Linked DNA regions of Homo sapiens: all the other regions are linked to region 1. The links are contacts of gene promoters, found by promoter capture Hi-C in blood cells and fetal thymus (Javierre and others, 2016). All regions are on one chromosome and are shown on one strand. The core of a region is centred on a gene start or on the middle of the fragment in contact, and the rest is flanking DNA. Distances in the headings are between cores, read along the strand shown. Region 1 holds the start of CAGE1 (cancer antigen 1). Region 2 holds the start of CDYL-AS1 (CDYL antisense RNA 1). Region 3 overlaps LYRM4 (LYR motif containing 4).

Region 1 (5,149 bases), core at 1,801-4,300:
TTCTCCTGTCTCAGCCTCCAGAGTAGCTGGGATTACAGGTGCTCGCTTCCATGCCTGGCTAATTTTTATATTTTTAGCAGAGATGGGGTCTCACCATGTTGCCCAGGCTGGTCAAAATGTATCTTACGCTAGCGAAACTGGGAAAACCAGACCCTGTATTCCCCTCCTTTATGTGTCCACCGAATATTGTTTTATTGTTCCTTATAGTTTTGAAGAAATTTTCATATGGAAGACAATGTGAATTCTGAATACATCTGAGCCTCCTGGAACTTATAAGCAATGCACACCTGAGGCAAGTCACAAGTGGTGCCGGTGGTTTCCATACAGATTGGAGAATGTGAAAGCATTACACCTTGAGAAAGATTGCTGACATTCATGGTATCCGATTCTGACATGCTTTCTACTTTTTCATGAGAAGTATCCACTTCAAAATGTACAGGATCTGAAGGTGATGACCAAAATTTTTGATAGTCCTTGTTCATAACTGTTGAACAATAGAAGACTTCTTTAAAAAAAAAATGTGTCTATTAGTAGGTATAAACAAAAAGTTTTTTCCCTATCCCTCTTCTCATTAAGAAAGTAGCAAAGTTCACTGCCCTTATTTGAAATGTCATTTGTCAAGTTATTAGAAAAATTAAAAATTTTAGTCTGAGTATACCGTAATTTGGTATGGTAGTAAATACTGATTTGGAGAAAAACAAACAGTATTGGCTACTATCCAATAACTCCCTAGAAGGCTTTGGACCTAGAAGTGAAGGGATCTCTGTGTTATTTAATCAAGGATATTTACAAAATATTATCAGAGACCTAATAGTTTCCACAAAATCCTGGATTTTTATTTACTTGATACCTTCCACTTGAACACCTCACTACCAAGTCAAACCCAGCATTGTAACTGTTTTCCCTCCTCACTTTCCTATACTGCGCCTATTCCCTCAGGTACATGTGTTTGAAAACTGGACTTGTCTTGGCATCCCTCTACCTCATCATGCATGGCTATTCAGATACCAAGTCCCGTCCATGTCTCCTTTAAAAATGTCTTTCAGGGCCGAGCGCGGTGGCTCACGCCTGTAATCCCAGCACTTTGGGAGGCCGACGCGGGCGGATCACGAGGTCAGGAGATCGAGATCATCCTGGCTAACACGGTGAAACCCCATCTCTACTAAAAATACAAAAAAAAAAAAAAAAAAAAATTAGCTGGGCGCGGTGGCGTGTGCCTGTAGTCCCAGCTACTCTGGAGGCTGAGGGAGGAGAATGGCGTGAACCCCGGAGGCAGAGCTTGCAGTGAGCCGAGATGGCCCACTGCACTCCAGCCTGGGTGACAGAGCAAGACTCCATCTCAAAAAAAAAAAAAAAAAAAAAAAGTCTTTCAGTAACCTGTGCTTTCTTTCCATCCCATGTTGCCACACTGGTCCATATTCTCCTGACTTCCTCAGGCCTGTCCAGAGCTCCAGAGCTGAGAGTGGAAAGGATGGCCACTCACATTGATTCTATAAATTTTTGTCCTTCCAGGCCATCCATAGCCTGGAGTGACATCCCCTACCCGGTACTCCCCTGCTCTACTCAGATCAGGCTCATTTCCCTGCAGACAGATAATGTTCCTTACGAATTAAGCTTCAGTCATCTGCCCTGGCACGTGCTTCTCTCCTAAAACCTTCCCATCTACCCATTCATCTATTTTCAAAATTCCTACAATGTCTTCAGTCTCTAAATCTCTATCTTACAATTCAGCACTTGGTGATTTCGTTTACTGTTTTAGAGCTTCACCACTGTTTCAAGGGTGTTAGTGTTTGTGTTTACAGATCATAAATGTCTTGAGAGGAGCATACTTAGGGCTTTCCAATATCCCCTACTGCAAATGGACCAGTGCTGTCTACACAGCAAATATTGATTGAATAAAACCTGCATTCCAATGACTTATTTCTATCAAGCTCTTTCAATTTATAGTCATTACTCATCTGCCTGGATTCTTTTATTGAATTTCTGAATGAATAGTTTATTGAAAATTAGTTGTTTTCAAACCTATGTCATCACTTGGTAAAATATAAAAAAGTAAGCCAAGCAGACCAGTCAGGATCAGTGAAAGGCCCAACTTTATGCTCACTTCTCCCTTGTCTTTCAAATAATGCTGCCTGGATTGTGGTGAGATCTGAAAAATTCTTGCTTTGTTTTCCCAATGCAAAAAAGCGCAAAGGCCTTGTTTCTTAGTTTTCTTGTTTGTGAACCCAGCACTTCCAATTACATTTCTACAACTTTGTTCATCCCTCATGTGGCACTGCACAATCTGCCAGTTTACCTTTTTAATTTAAAGTTAGACTATTTTTTCCATCTTTCATTTGTCCTTACAGGTTTATGTTGGATTTTTAACATATTTATCAAATGTTTGAATAGATGTTCCAGAGACATTCTAAAGCTGTTTTAAGATAGGAGTTAAAAGAGGTGTCACGGGAGTTACTCGCAAAAACTATAGTTTTGTTTAAAAGCTTTTTCAGTTGTAAGACAAACTTTACCTTTTTAAAAAGCACTTATCTCATTCATTTTTCACCTCAAAACGAGACACCAAACTTTTTAAGACACAAAAGTGTGCTCACTTCCAGGATCCATAGTTTCTTGGACCCACGCTACGGACCTGGCTCTCCCTCCCTCTGCACCGGGTTTTGTGGGAGGGAGAACGCTTTCCAACCTCCTCCACCAAGGACTCTCACAAACTCGCAATCGGGCTCCCGGAGTGCTGGAACGCCCCTGTGTGACGTCCGCCCGCGCCGGGGGAACTCCGCAGAGACAGGTGCAGCCCGCGAGGCCCGAGCGACCCTACTGTGGGTGCGGTGTCTTCCCAGAGAGTGGTGAAGTTAGGAAGGTACGACCCCCTAGGCCGAACAGCCTGTGGGCTAGCTGGCGCCTCCTGCCGCAGTAAACACAAAGTGGGGTACAGAAACGAAAACTCCGGGAAGAAACGGCCAGCACGGGCCTCGCCGTGCCGGCTACTCAACACGCCTTCCTGAGAGCACAGAACATCCACAGCCCTATACAGCGCGCCATCCAGAGAGCTCCGGACTCCCAGCTCGGCGCAGGGGCGGGACTTCCGCTCAAGTCAGACTTCCGGGCGAGGCGGTGAGGGGCTTCCGGTTGGGGTGGCAGGGTGGTGGATCTGTCGGTCCCGTTTTCCCGTCGCACGTGGTGGCCACTGTTGGCTTCTGAATGGTTTGCAAGGCGGATATCCACGCCAAGGCCTTTGGATCGGCCGTGGGTACATCCGTCTGAGCCGTTCCTTTCCATCGCAGAGCGGCGGCCTCCGGCGGCGCTCTCCAGTCATGGACTACCGGCGGCTTCTCATGAGCCGGGTGGTCCCCGGGCAATTCGACGACGCGGACTCCTCTGACAGGTAGGCGGCCGTACAGTGCCCTGGCTCTGGGTACGGCTCTCTCCTTGACCGCCCCCTTGGGGTGTGGACTCTTGTTTGCGGTTTAGAGGGAGACTAGTGGTTCATCACTCAGCGTCTCTCTTGACAACCCTTTGCCTGTTTCTGCATCCCAGCTGGGTTTTTCTCCCAGTTCACGCGGCAGAGTTAAGTGAAAGCTACTTGTCAAGGGAGTCTGCGGTTCTCAGGTCGGTTAGCGTCACTGGGAGGCAGAGTTGGGGATAGCGATTAGGAAACATGGGTTTTTGCGTTTTAACCACATTTAGCGTTCAACAAATACTTACTAAGCACTTAATATGTACCACGTTCTGTCCTGGGCGCCGGAGGTAACAAGAAGAACCAACTTCCTGCTGTCATGGAACTTTACCTTCTACGTGAAAGAGAGGGCACACCATTTAAAAACCAAATAATGATGTAGACTATGCAAATCGTTTGATATACCAAGTGGTGACTGAATGGGTAGGGAAAGGTTAAGTCCAGATTTGAATGACAAGGAGCTAATCCTGGCAAGAGCAGAGGGAACAGCATTTCACACAGAAGGGACAGCAAGAGCAAAGGCCCCGAGGCCAGAGTGCCTAGAGCACAGTGGAGGTAGTTGAGAAGATTGGTAGGGTGATAGAGAAGTAAGAAGGGGGGCCAGATCATGGAGACCTTTACAAGTGATGGTGAAAAGTTCAGATATTAATGTGGGTCTTATGGAAAGCCATAGGAGGGATTTTAGCAGAAGAATGACATTATTTGCTTGGTGATTTAAAGGAATCATTCTTTCTAGGTAGATGATGTTCATGGAGGGTGGGAGTGGAACAGAGAGACCAGTTCAAAAATAATAAGGTAATCAGATTCAAAGATGGTGGGGACTAGAGCCCAGATCCTAAAGATATGTCTTGGAGGTAGAAGTGGCAGCGTTTGGTGGTAGACTGGACGTGGAGTCTGGGGAAAGAGGGATGAAGGATAACTCCTGCCTAAAAGCAAAATGAAACATATTGGAGTTATTTTGGAATTCCAAGAAAACAGCTTGTACTTTATGTTTACAGTAAGGATTCATCACATGCGGATTTTGTTAATTATTGGGGATGTTTTCAATAAATATATGTATGTTGAATGCTTTCTGTGAGTCAGATCTAGTCTTAGGTGGTAGGGAGGCATTGGTAAATACCATCCTGAATGACACAGAGCTTGCACCCTAGCAGGGGAAACCGATATTATTAAATAATTAGACTATTTGTATTCGAATTGGGTAAGTAGTACAAAGGAGAAGTGGGGGAAAAATAGGGAAGACTTCCTTGAGCAAGTGATAGTGAGCTGATACTTGATGGATGAGTAGGGGTTAGCCAGAGAAAGAGGAAGGGCATTCCAGTTTTATGGTTACGGAGAAGTGTACAAAAAGCTTTAGAGAAGAAAAGCAGCAGAAGAAACACAGCCAGCATAGCTAGTGGGTAGTTAATGGTAATGAGAGGGCACTAATTTACCATCCACCCCAGGGTATTGTAAGGATACACCAGTGATTTTCCATTGGGGAAGATGTTGCCATCCCGACTTCTACCCAGGGGACTTTTGGCAATTTCTGGAGACGTTTTTGTATGTCACAGCTGGGGGTGGTGGTACATTAGTGGCATCTGGTAAGTAGAGGCCAGAGATATGCTGCTAAAAATCCTACAGTGCAGAAGACAGTCCCCCACAACGAAGAATTATCTGGCAAAGTTACAACTTTAACATGCCACTCTAGGCAAT
Region 2 (5,149 bases), core at 694-3,193, 2.6 Mb before region 1:
CTATGAGTGCTGGTAAAATGTTTATATAAAAAAGTGACGGAGGAAAGCAAAGTTTGCTTAAAAGTAAGACAAATTGAACGAATGAGGTTAAAATATATATGTATATATAAGCAAAATAGCATTCCATAAATCAGTGAGTTTTAAATGGAGGGCAGATGAAAGGAACAAAGTGGACAATTGAGAACTTCCTCAATTTCTCAGTCGCTAGGTGGATACCCATCTCCTTCGCCAGTGGAAGCCAACTGTCAGAGTGGAGAGGTGGTTGGAACTTAGGAGTATGGCTCACTCCTGCTTTGTTTTAGAGGCTACTGGTGGTTACTCTTAATGTTGTAGACTAAGGATAGCAGCATAAACATTCCAGATTGTCAAGATTGAAAAGCTACGTAAATTGACAAAGGTCTATGTAAATTGACATTTTTGAGTTGCCTTTTTGAGGCTATAATTCTTCCCCTTTTTGTTTCCACAATGGGGAAAATCGCCTTACTAGCTCAATATCTGGATATGTTTGTTGTGGATGTCTATGTTCCTTTCTTTCCCTCTCCTGGGCAACAATGGCAGTTTTGGAGACTCCTTGGAGACCACAGTACCATTACGCACATGGTGGAGCCCCTTGTGAATGCCTAAGCTTGTGGATGTTCTGAAGGGGGCAATAATTGGAGTAATGGTCATGGCGAGAAGTGCTTGTATTTGTATTGGTCCATCATTGCATAATAGGCTTATATGTTATATGTATCTATTTCCTATTGAGGATCTCTTTTTTACAGTTGATTTTTCTTGAGGGATTTTAAACTATCACCTGCCAGTATTTGAGCGCTTGCCGAAGTGTGCACTCAATGCTTTGAGATTTCCCAAATGTATAAAATCCTAGTCCTTGCCTTCAAGGAACTTACAACTTTTGTTGATAAATTGGTAAACCTAGAGAGAAGGCAACAATGAAATGCAGCATATAATGGAAATGCTAAGTGAGAGGAAAGAGGCGCTGTTTGGAGGAGGGAGAGGGAATTGGCTGGGCCATCAGGGAAAGAGGCAGAGCTTGAGGCGCCTTGACCAGTTGATGAAGTGGTGGCTTTAATTTGCGATTCTTGTGCAAACATTTGATAATGGGAATTGGATGTGTAGGTATTGGGCTTTCTCGTGGACACTGAAATTCCATTCATTGAACAACACCTTATTTCCTGTATAGAGAATGGTGCTAGGGGCCAGCGTCAAATTTGAAGATGAAGTCTGACTGAAGGTCATCGTTTGGAGTTGGGGTGGGGTGAAGAGTAGACAAACCTTAAAATACAGAGACGAGTGCTGCAGTGAGCACGCGTGAGTGCTTAGGCAGCGCTTGAAGAGGGAGTTACCGATTTGGCCCTGGAAGTCAGGAAGGCTATCCTTTTAAGGTGATCCCTGAGCTGGGAGTTTGTTTCAAACGGTGGGGACCGCAGGTAGAAGCACCGCTTAAGGGGAACGGCGATTCGACTCGCAGTGACTTAAGGGTTGGCGTGGTGCTTGTTCCTGGGCGTGGGGAGGACAGGAAACCGCGGGGTCTGTGAGACGCCCCGTGGTTGTTGAAACGCTGTTGGGGGGCACAAACGAATAGGGCTTTAGGAAGAAAACTGGTGGGAGGAGCCTTGTGGCTCCAAGGTAGGTTAGGAACTGGAGCGAGATGGAGCACGGAGGAGTGAGGCGGCCCGAAGGATGCCCGGGGAGACATGGAGGAACTGGCGAGGGCTTCCCGATGCAGGGCCTGGGGGAGAGGGTGAACTAATGCCTCTGCAGTGCCCCGTGGGGAAGTTCCGCATACTCGGCCAGAGTGATCGGAGTTGGCGGCTGTCTGGGGGAGTTGGGTCAGGAAGCCCCTTCTTTCGCCACCGATGGGGCACGTCCAGGGCCCGGCAGGTGTGCCCTGGCAGTAGATCTTCCCTGGGAAGTGGAGCGCGGGCCAGCCCTCGCTGTTCTGAGCGAGGGCCTGTCGTGTAGTCCACACCGTTCCGCGAAAGGAACCACCATTGACAGCCTCGTTCGATTAGAACCCGGACCTCCCTGGAATCCAGACTCGGTCCCTTCCCAGCTGCGCTTCGGAGGAGGCGGACGCTCCGAGAGGAACCCAGAGGCCTGGCGTGGGGGGAGCTGCGGGCAGAGCGGAGGCAGCCGCGCCCTCGCGCCGCCCTCCGCCGCGCCCGGCTCCCGCCCCCCGGATCCCACCCCCGGCCTGCCGCGGAGCCAGCGTGCCAGCCGGAGCTCGCCGGGCCACCCCGCGGGGCGCGCGGCCCGGGCTCCGGGTCTTGGCGGCGGCCGGTGGGGCGGGCATGGGGTGGGGTGGGTGCTCCACCTGGCCACGCCGCCGGCCCTTCGCGGGCTGGCCCGGCCCCGGACGGGCGGGCGCACGGAGGCCGCCTCTTGGGCTCCTCCTGGAGGGAGGCGCGCGGTAGACGGCGCGGCCGCTGCCGTCGGGGCGGTGGGCTCCAGACGCGGGCCGGCTCGCTCGCATGGTTCCCTGCCCCATCTCGGGTCCGTCGCTGCCCGTCCTGGTGTGCACAACCGCGCTGCGCCTCGAACCTCGAGGTCCAGGTCCCGCCTGCCCTGGGCCGGGCCGCAAGCGCCCACGTCGAGGCGGGCTGGGGGGCGGTGCCGCGGGCCAGGCCGACCCCGCAAGCGGGACTGGGGAAGTCGGAGCCCCGCCCACCACCCCGCCCCCCGCGCTCGCGGCCCCGCCCCCGACTGCCCCGCTCCTCCCCTTCCTGCCGGCTCGCTCCCGGCCCCGCCGGCCGCCCGCCTCGGCCCCGAGCGGAGCCCACTGCTCCCCTCGGCTGCCCCGCCCCGCCGCCGCCCCGCCCCTCCCGCGCGGGCGGCCCGAAAACCCGGAGCGCGGGAGCGCGGCTCCGCAGGGCCGGGCGGCCGCACTGGGCATGCTCAGTAGCCGGGGCAGGTTTTTTGGTCGCAAGTAGGAAGCTTTCTGCACTACACCGGAGAGGGGAGCCGCGATCCGGCCGCGCCGCCCGCACGCCGCCGCGCCCGCCCCAGCCCGCCCGGCCCCGCGGCGGGGCGCGATGAGCCCGAGCGCGAGCCGGCCCGCCGGGGAGTGAGCGCGGGGCGCCCAGGGCGCGTTGCGTAGCTGCTCCTGCGCACAACCCCGCCGCGCCGCCGGCCCGCACTGGCCGCGGAGTGCAAGAGGCTCGTCCGTGCCCAGCGCCCGGCCGGCCGCGGGAGCAGGAAGCGCAGGCCACGCAGGACCCAACTGAAACAAAGTGTCGGCCGCCCGGCGCCGGCGCCCGCCCCGACCCTGCCCCTCCCGCCCGCAACTCCGCCGCCCACCATGGCTTCCGAGGAGCTGTACGAGGTACCTCCCCTCCCCCCGGCCTCGGGCCGCCCCCCGCCCGCCGCCCCTCCCGGCCCGGCCGCGCCGCCCGACGGCCCCGCTCGCCGCCCGCGCCCGCCGCGTCCCCTCCCCCGCCGCGGCCGCAGTTTGCTGGACGGGAAATGTGTGTGAGGGGAGCCCGAGCCTCCGTTCCGAGGGGCCCCGGCCGGGGGGTCCTGAAGTTGCCGGGCGTGGGGTGGGGGGGGGGGTCCCAGCCGTGGGGAAGTGGTGCTGACACAAGTGACTTGCTCGGACTGAGCTCAAAGTGCTCTTGGCGTGGGTCGTGGAAGTGGTGCCTCCGTTGCCGCTCGGCGGGGACCGTGGGCGGTACGGGGGGTGGGGTGTGGGGGGGTTTCTGGATCATTTGATAAAGCATTTGGGAGAGGGTTTTGCCCCTGGTCGGGGGGTGGCGGGGAGAAGACCGGTGCAAACGCTTTCGACTTTGCTGTTCGCCAAAGCGATGCAAAATCTCGCACCGAAAATGCTAAACGTTGACCACATGCTTTAATTAGGTTAGCATTGTGGCCAGAGCCAGGAAATTTAAATTTAACGCTGATACACCGTCATTCATTTGCGCCGCAGCGTTGCAAATGAGAAGGGCATAGCCAGAACTGTAAGTTCTGGTCGATGGGTTTAAACCAGCTTCAAGTTTGAGAGTTACCAATTTGGATCTTTAGACATGTTTTGTATGTCTCCATGTAACTTCTTTTGACGTATTTCAAAGTAGACTTCCTGGGAGTACAGAAGTTTGGAAGGCTTTCTGTTCTTCTGGATAAATGATTCTCTTGTTTCACATGTATTTATAAATAAGTTCCTAAGAGACTTAAAACTTGCGAAGACTCTCTAGACTCACCTTTATGATGCGTTTAGGGACCTGGGTGTTGAGGGACTTAAGGAAGCATCTGTAACAAGTAGAGCCCTGTGGCCCCAGGGATCCTTTCAGTTGTCTTCTCTTATGGGCGTATTATTGCTGTTGGCATAGAATAGAGCTTTGTTGTCTGCGATGTTAGTCTTCTAGCAACTTTTTTGTTGCTTTTTAAGAGCAAGTGTTTGCAGAAGTTCTCAGGAGGAAGCTGCCATCTGTAGAATTAAGGGTAAGGTTGTTGCTTCTCCTTACATTGTATGTGGTCAGTATACCTTAGCTGGTACTGAAAATGTTCCATTCTTTTCAACCATTTTACACATTAGCTGTGCCCCGCTGTATTCAGGATACTATTTTAGGTCATTTGGGGATGTAAAAGAAGAAAAATCTCCCTGTTCTCAGGAGCTTTCCTTCTAGGAAGGAAAGTGTTGTGTGTCTGGAAGACACAGAAATGGAGGCTAGGATGTTTGAGGTTGAGGTCTTCCAGGTGAAGTCTGTACAGGGGGAAGTACATAGCATGAGGGTATGGGGGATTTTAGTTTCTACATTAGATCATTCTTTGGTTGTTTAGTCATGAGTGTTCACTCTTGGCATTTGCTTTTATGAGTATGATTACATAATCAGTTCCATCAGTGGATGAGAGTAGCACCTTATACGTAAGTTGTATCCTATGTGTGTAAGAATGATTCTGAAGACAGCACATTTCCCATTAGTATATTATGAACTAAGTTTAGTTCCTTCTGTGCTTATTCTATATCTTCAGGTTTCTGTTCCTAACAGAAGTTATTAATGAGTAACATTTTGTACTAAGTTTGTGTTCATTTAACGTTTATTGAATGCTTGCCATATGGAGGTTTCATGGGGAAATACTGAGGTGTGAGAATGGTTCATGCTTTCAAGGAGTGTCTGTTGGGGAGGAAGTAAGTATATTGCAAATAAATGAT
Region 3 (5,149 bases), core at 1,651-4,150, 2.1 Mb before region 1:
ATCCTAGTTATAATAATTTAAAATTCATGGCCCAAAACCGCAATTACTTTTGCACCAACTTGCTACCTAGGTACTATGCTAAGCACTAGGAATAGAGATAAGACAGAATTTCTGGTAACTGTGTATGTGTGATATGTGCCCTAACAAAGGTAAGAACAGGTGCTTCCTCAACATCTGCTTATCTCCCGCTTAACCCAGAAACTGGCTGTCAGGCTTGGCACAAATAAACTCAACTTTCCACCCTCTCATACTCCAACTTGCCCTCTTCTCCTTCATTCCACTCATGTAAAATGAAATACCGTTCATTCTGTCCAAGACCAACCCCACCAGCTGTGCTCTCAGGTACCACTTTTCACCTCTCGTGGGGTCCTGCTCTATCGGTTATCTACTCTCATGTTTTATTAACCAAAATTCCGGTGGGAGGTGGAGGGGGTATCTCTACTCACGGCAGCAATTTACGCACTTCTGATTCATGTCTCAACCCCCACAATCTGGGTTCTGCCATAACCACTTGACTAACAATGCTGCTCTGGTAATGGTACCAGAGGCTCTACATTGCCCTCTTTATGAACTGGATATTGCTTAGACAAGCCACCCTGCTGACCACAGCTACCTTCCCCAAACATATGACTATCTTGACTTCTGCAACACTACTCTTTACTTGATCTCCTCCCATTTCTTCAACCCTACAGTAGTTAGCCAAGGGACCATGGCGGGGGTCTCTGAGACCTTTCAGGGGATCCACCAGGAAAACTATTTTCATAGTTATCAGGAAGACATCTGCATTCTCTCATGAGTATACAGGGGAAATTACTAGACACTAAGTGATATGTGATATAGCAACAAATTGTAGATAGCAACAAATATAAGCACCCAGTTGTCTTCTATTAAGCCAAACATGAAAGAGACTTGCACTAGTGTCAAACTATCAATCTGCTGATTTAGGGGGAGGAAAAATGGTTATTCTTCATAAAAGTGTTATTTAACATAATGGATTTAGTCACTTTAAAATAGGTGTTTTTAAAAGCTTTTTTTTTCTAATATGATAAATGCGTCCCACATAAATGAAAGCTTTTTGGGGTCCTCAGTAATATTTAAGAACGTAAAAGGCCTAAGACCAGTTAAGTTGAAGAACCACATTCTTAAACTTTGTCTTCTTGGCTCTTCTTCAGCCAACTACTTCAATTTTGATGTTCCCTAGAATAGCATCCGTAGCCACGAATTTTCTCACCTTAAACTAGGATTTCTCAATCTTGGCATGACCAAACTTTTGGGCCAGCTAATTCTTTGTTAATGGGGGTTGTCCCCTGTGCATCCCTGGCCTCAGATGCCTAGCACCCCCTTTCCAAGTTGTGGCAACCAAAAACGTCTTCAGATATTGTCAAATAAAATCACCCCAGGATGAGAACTACTAACCTAAATAGTATTCCTAGATAATTCATCTAATATCTAGGTTTTAATTTGACTTATGATGATAATTCCACTTATCAAGTACCTATTCTGCACCAGGGACTATCCTAAGTACTTGATGTGTATTAACTCACCACAGTGGTGCCGACTACAGCCCCCATTAACAAAGAATTAGCTGGCCCAAAAGGTTGGTCATGCCAAGATTGAGAAATCCTAGTTTAAGGTGAGAAAATTAGTGGCTACGGATGCTATTCTAGGGAACATCAGAATTGAAGGAGTTGGCTGAAGAAGAGCCAAGAAGACAAAATTTAAGAATGTGGTTCTTGGCCAGGCGCGGTGGCTCATGCCTGTAATCCCAGCACTTTGGGAGGCCGAGGTGGGCGGATCACCTTAGGTCAGGAGTTCAAGATCAGCCTGGCCAATATGGTGAAACCCCGCCTCTACTAAAAATACAGAAATTAGCCAGGCGTAGTGGCAGGCACCTGTAATCCCAGCTACTCGGGAGGCTGAGGCAGAAGAATTGCTTGAACCTGGGAGGTGGAGGTTGCAGTGAGCCAAGATCGCACCATTGCCCTCCAGCCTGGGCAACAAGGGCAAGATTTCAACTGGAAAAAAAAAAAAAAAAAAAAAAAAAAAAAAAAAAAAAAAGAATGTGGTTCTTAAACTTATTGGTCTCAGGACCCTTTTACACTGTGTGAGATGGATCAATTATGACTCTCATTTTATAAAGAAACTGCAGAACAGAGAGTGATGTGACTTGCGTGGGGTCACACAGAGTTGGTGGTGCTGACTACTGCAGTGCTCATCACTCCTCTGAGCTTCAGAGCCCTGTGATTAACTACCTCTGCTGGGCATCCCAGGGGAAATTTACACCCAAGATACCCTAAATATGAACTAAAAAACCCTCTCTCCACAAGACCAGCTAGTTCTGTATTACCTGAGTCAGTTAATGGTGCAAGTTTAAATTCACCCTCTCTGTGCTTTAGCTTAACCAGAAACCTGGATGCCATTCTAGACTCTGCTTGGATTCTCTTCTTCCTTAGTCCTCAATCCAATCATTCCAGTTCCAACAATTTTCCCTTCTAATGATTTATCAAATACAACATTCTTCTCTATCTTCCACTATTCCTGTCCTTACTAGCGTCCTAATCTCTACTCTGCACTGTTGTAATCAACTCCCATTTGATGTCCTTGGCCCCTCAAAATCATCTTCTACACTGCTGCCAGAGTGATCTATCAGAAAATGCAAATCTGGTCATGTCAGGTTAGTGGCTGCCTGTGAGCTAAGGGTAAAGTCCAGGGTCCTCAGCACGGCCCCCAGGCCCTCAAATCAGTGGCCCTCTCCAACCTCAGTGCCTTCCTGTCACCGCCCCCCCAACCCCATCATACTTACCTCCCTGGCAGTGCTGTGCTGTTTGCCTGCCTGACCACACCAAGCTGCTTCATGCCTTTGATCCAACATCACCCCTTGGGAGGCCTTCTAGATTCCACACCTTGTACATCCTTCTGTCACAGCACTTAACCCAGTCTGTGACAACTATCTCTGTACCTGTGTCCCACATAGGCCTGTAAAGCCATTGATAACAGGTGCCTAGCTTAGTTCAAAAATCTCATCTTTCTCTCTCCAGGGCTTGGTATAGCAGGGGTCCCCAACCCATCAGTACTGGTCCGTGGCCTGTTAGGAACCGGGCCACACAGCAGTTGAGCGGTGGGTGAGTGCGCATTATGGCCTGAGCTCCATCTCCTGTCAGATCAGCGGCGGCATTAGATTCTCATAGGTGCACCTATTGTGAACTGTGCATGTGAGTGATCTAGGTTGCATGCTCCTTATGAGAATCTAATGCCTGATGATCTGAGGTGGAAGAGTTTCATCCCGAAACCATCCCCTCCCTTGACCCGGTCCATGGAAAAACTGTCTTCCATGAAATTGGTTCCTGGTGCCAAGAAGGTTGGGGATAGCTGTGATATAGCACTGGGCAAAGCATGCTTCAGAGATGTTTTGTAGAAGCACTGAGGTAAAAGAATGACACACAGCAATGAGACCTGTTTGGCTGGTGGGAGGGATGGGAGTGGAAGCTGTGGGATGAAGAGAGTTGGGAAAACTTTTGTTCAGAGAAGGTGACAATTGAGCTCAATCTTGAAGGAAGAGGGGGCACTCTAGACAGGAGTGATAAAGGGCCTGCTGGATAGAACAGTACTTGTAAAGGCCTGGAGGCCCAACAGGACGTGGCACATTTAGGAAACTGCAACTGATGATGACAGAGGACAGGATGCACATGTGGGACTTAGGCTGAGACTGGAGGAGCAGACAGGGCTCCTGCTATCAAAACGTGGCCTATATTATAGGTCTTGCAAGAGAGTTCCAAAGTATTTATTTCACTACTCTAATTACTTAAGGCACAATTCGCAGGTCATTAAAAAACGTTTACTAGTCTGCTTTTGATTGCTTATTCAGCACTACCTGTGTTAGTTTTGATAGGTAACTTAAGCTCCCTGTGCCTCAGTTGCCTTACAGGGTAATACAAATAGTACCTACCTCACAAGATTATTGTCAAAACAAATGTGTTAATAGACATGAAGAACATAAGATAGCAGTGGCACACAGAATTGATAGTGGATGTTGTGTTGCTATTGATTTGCCATCAGTGACAAACAGCTGCAGAGATTAGAGAGGAGGGAAGGGACTTTTCCTGAAATTCACAAGACACAGCCTTAATGTAAAAGGACGTATTTTTATAACAAGTAAGTTTATCTAGGGAGGTAATAGCAGGAATGTCGGTTTTTAGGTCTATGATCTCAGGTAACAGTATAAAATGATTATCAGATTCCTTTGGATAATATATTTATATTTGGATAGTAAATTTAGCTTAAAAGTATATGCTTAAGGTATAATTTGATCAATTATTTTCTGAATGCATATGATCTTACAGTTGCCCATACTGAAACCCATTTTCAATTTTCTGCCTTTCAGGTAGAGTCTTGAATGATTTTCCTAAAGTTTGAATGATTTTCCTGTTGAGTTTCGTGAATGATTTTCCTGTTCAGTTGGCAATTACTCATTTGAAAACGCTTGGGCCTCATTTGCTCATAAATCATTTCCAAAGAGAATTTCAGAAATGGAAGGGTCCTTAGAGATTGTCTAGTCCAACAGTCTATTTCATAAACAAGAAAACTGAAATACAGAGATTGAGAGACTTGTCCAAGTTAGTCTTCGAGGGCTCCACCTTGACTTTCTTACATGCTCTCACATAAACCCTCTCCCTGCCACTTTCCTTAGTGTGTGAACTGCCTGCTGATTCCAAGTCCTTGTGTATCCTGAGTAAGCTTTAATGACAAACTATTTTACTCCAGACTATGGTGAAATCAAATGGTTTCTATTTATTTAACTTGCATATTTCATGTGTTTCCTCAACAGACTTGGTTAAGTACTTGGTGCTAGGTGTTTGGTTAATTCTTGCTAAAATTCCACCAGTATGCTTATTATTACACTCTTTATTCTCCAAAGTCAAAGTCATTAAGTAAAATCATTCTCTCCCGTGAAATTTAACCACTTAACTGGGTGGATACAACCTCAGTGGTATGACCCAGATGCTGTTTTCAAATTTGCAGCATGAGTATATTTTCCAGGCGGGTTTCTAAAAATTTGAGAGTCATTGCTTAAGAGGCTTAGCGTTCCTGTCCTCTGACAGAGGTTGTACTGGGCAGACCCATCTCAGGGCCTGCCAGCTCACACACGTGC

What was found. Contacts are between HindIII fragments. The CHiCAGO score rates a contact against its expected background, and 5 or more counts as called.
Region 2: the fragment with the promoter of CDYL-AS1 here is called in contact with the fragment with the promoter of CAGE1 in region 1 in 1 of 17 cell types (activated CD4 T cells); the score reaches 5.7 in activated CD4 T cells.
Region 3: a contact is called between a fragment that was not itself captured here and the fragment with the promoter of CAGE1 in region 1, in 2 of 17 cell types (naive CD4 T cells and activated CD4 T cells). The highest score is 8.7, in naive CD4 T cells.

Annotation. Positions count from the first base shown.
Region 1 is chr6:7,386,692-7,391,840 of GRCh38, forward strand. It overlaps CAGE1 (cancer antigen 1), which reads right to left and starts at 3,051. Exons shown (of 14, transcript NM_001170692.2): 1 at 2,511-3,051; 2 at 288-505. The coding sequence starts at 482. It overlaps RIOK1 (RIO kinase 1), which reads left to right and starts at 3,117. Exons shown (of 17, transcript NM_031480.3): 1 at 3,117-3,382. The coding sequence starts at 3,312. RefSeq lists enhancers at 2,730-2,789, 2,800-2,849, 2,980-3,399, 3,003-3,789. The HindIII fragment of the contact is 2,322 bases long and covers 2,482-4,803 here.
Region 2 is chr6:4,773,483-4,778,631 of GRCh38, forward strand. CDYL-AS1 (CDYL antisense RNA 1) reads right to left here and starts at 1,944. Exons shown (of 2, transcript NR_183279.1): 1 at 1,790-1,944; 2 at 1,044-1,275. CDYL (chromodomain Y like) reads left to right here and starts at 2,922. Exons shown (of 7, transcript NM_004824.4): 1 at 2,922-3,325. The coding sequence starts at 3,302. RefSeq lists an enhancer at 1,613-2,266 and silencers at 2,074-2,703, 2,724-3,273. The HindIII fragment of the contact is 2,312 bases long and covers 624-2,935 here.
Region 3 is chr6:5,254,473-5,259,621 of GRCh38, forward strand. All of the region lies in intron 1 of LYRM4 (LYR motif containing 4), which reads right to left. It also overlaps a transcript of FARS2 not described here. Among named protein-coding and RNA genes, the nearest start is that of LYRM4, 3.9 kb to the right of the region's middle. The HindIII fragment of the contact is 3,663 bases long and covers 1,070-4,732 here.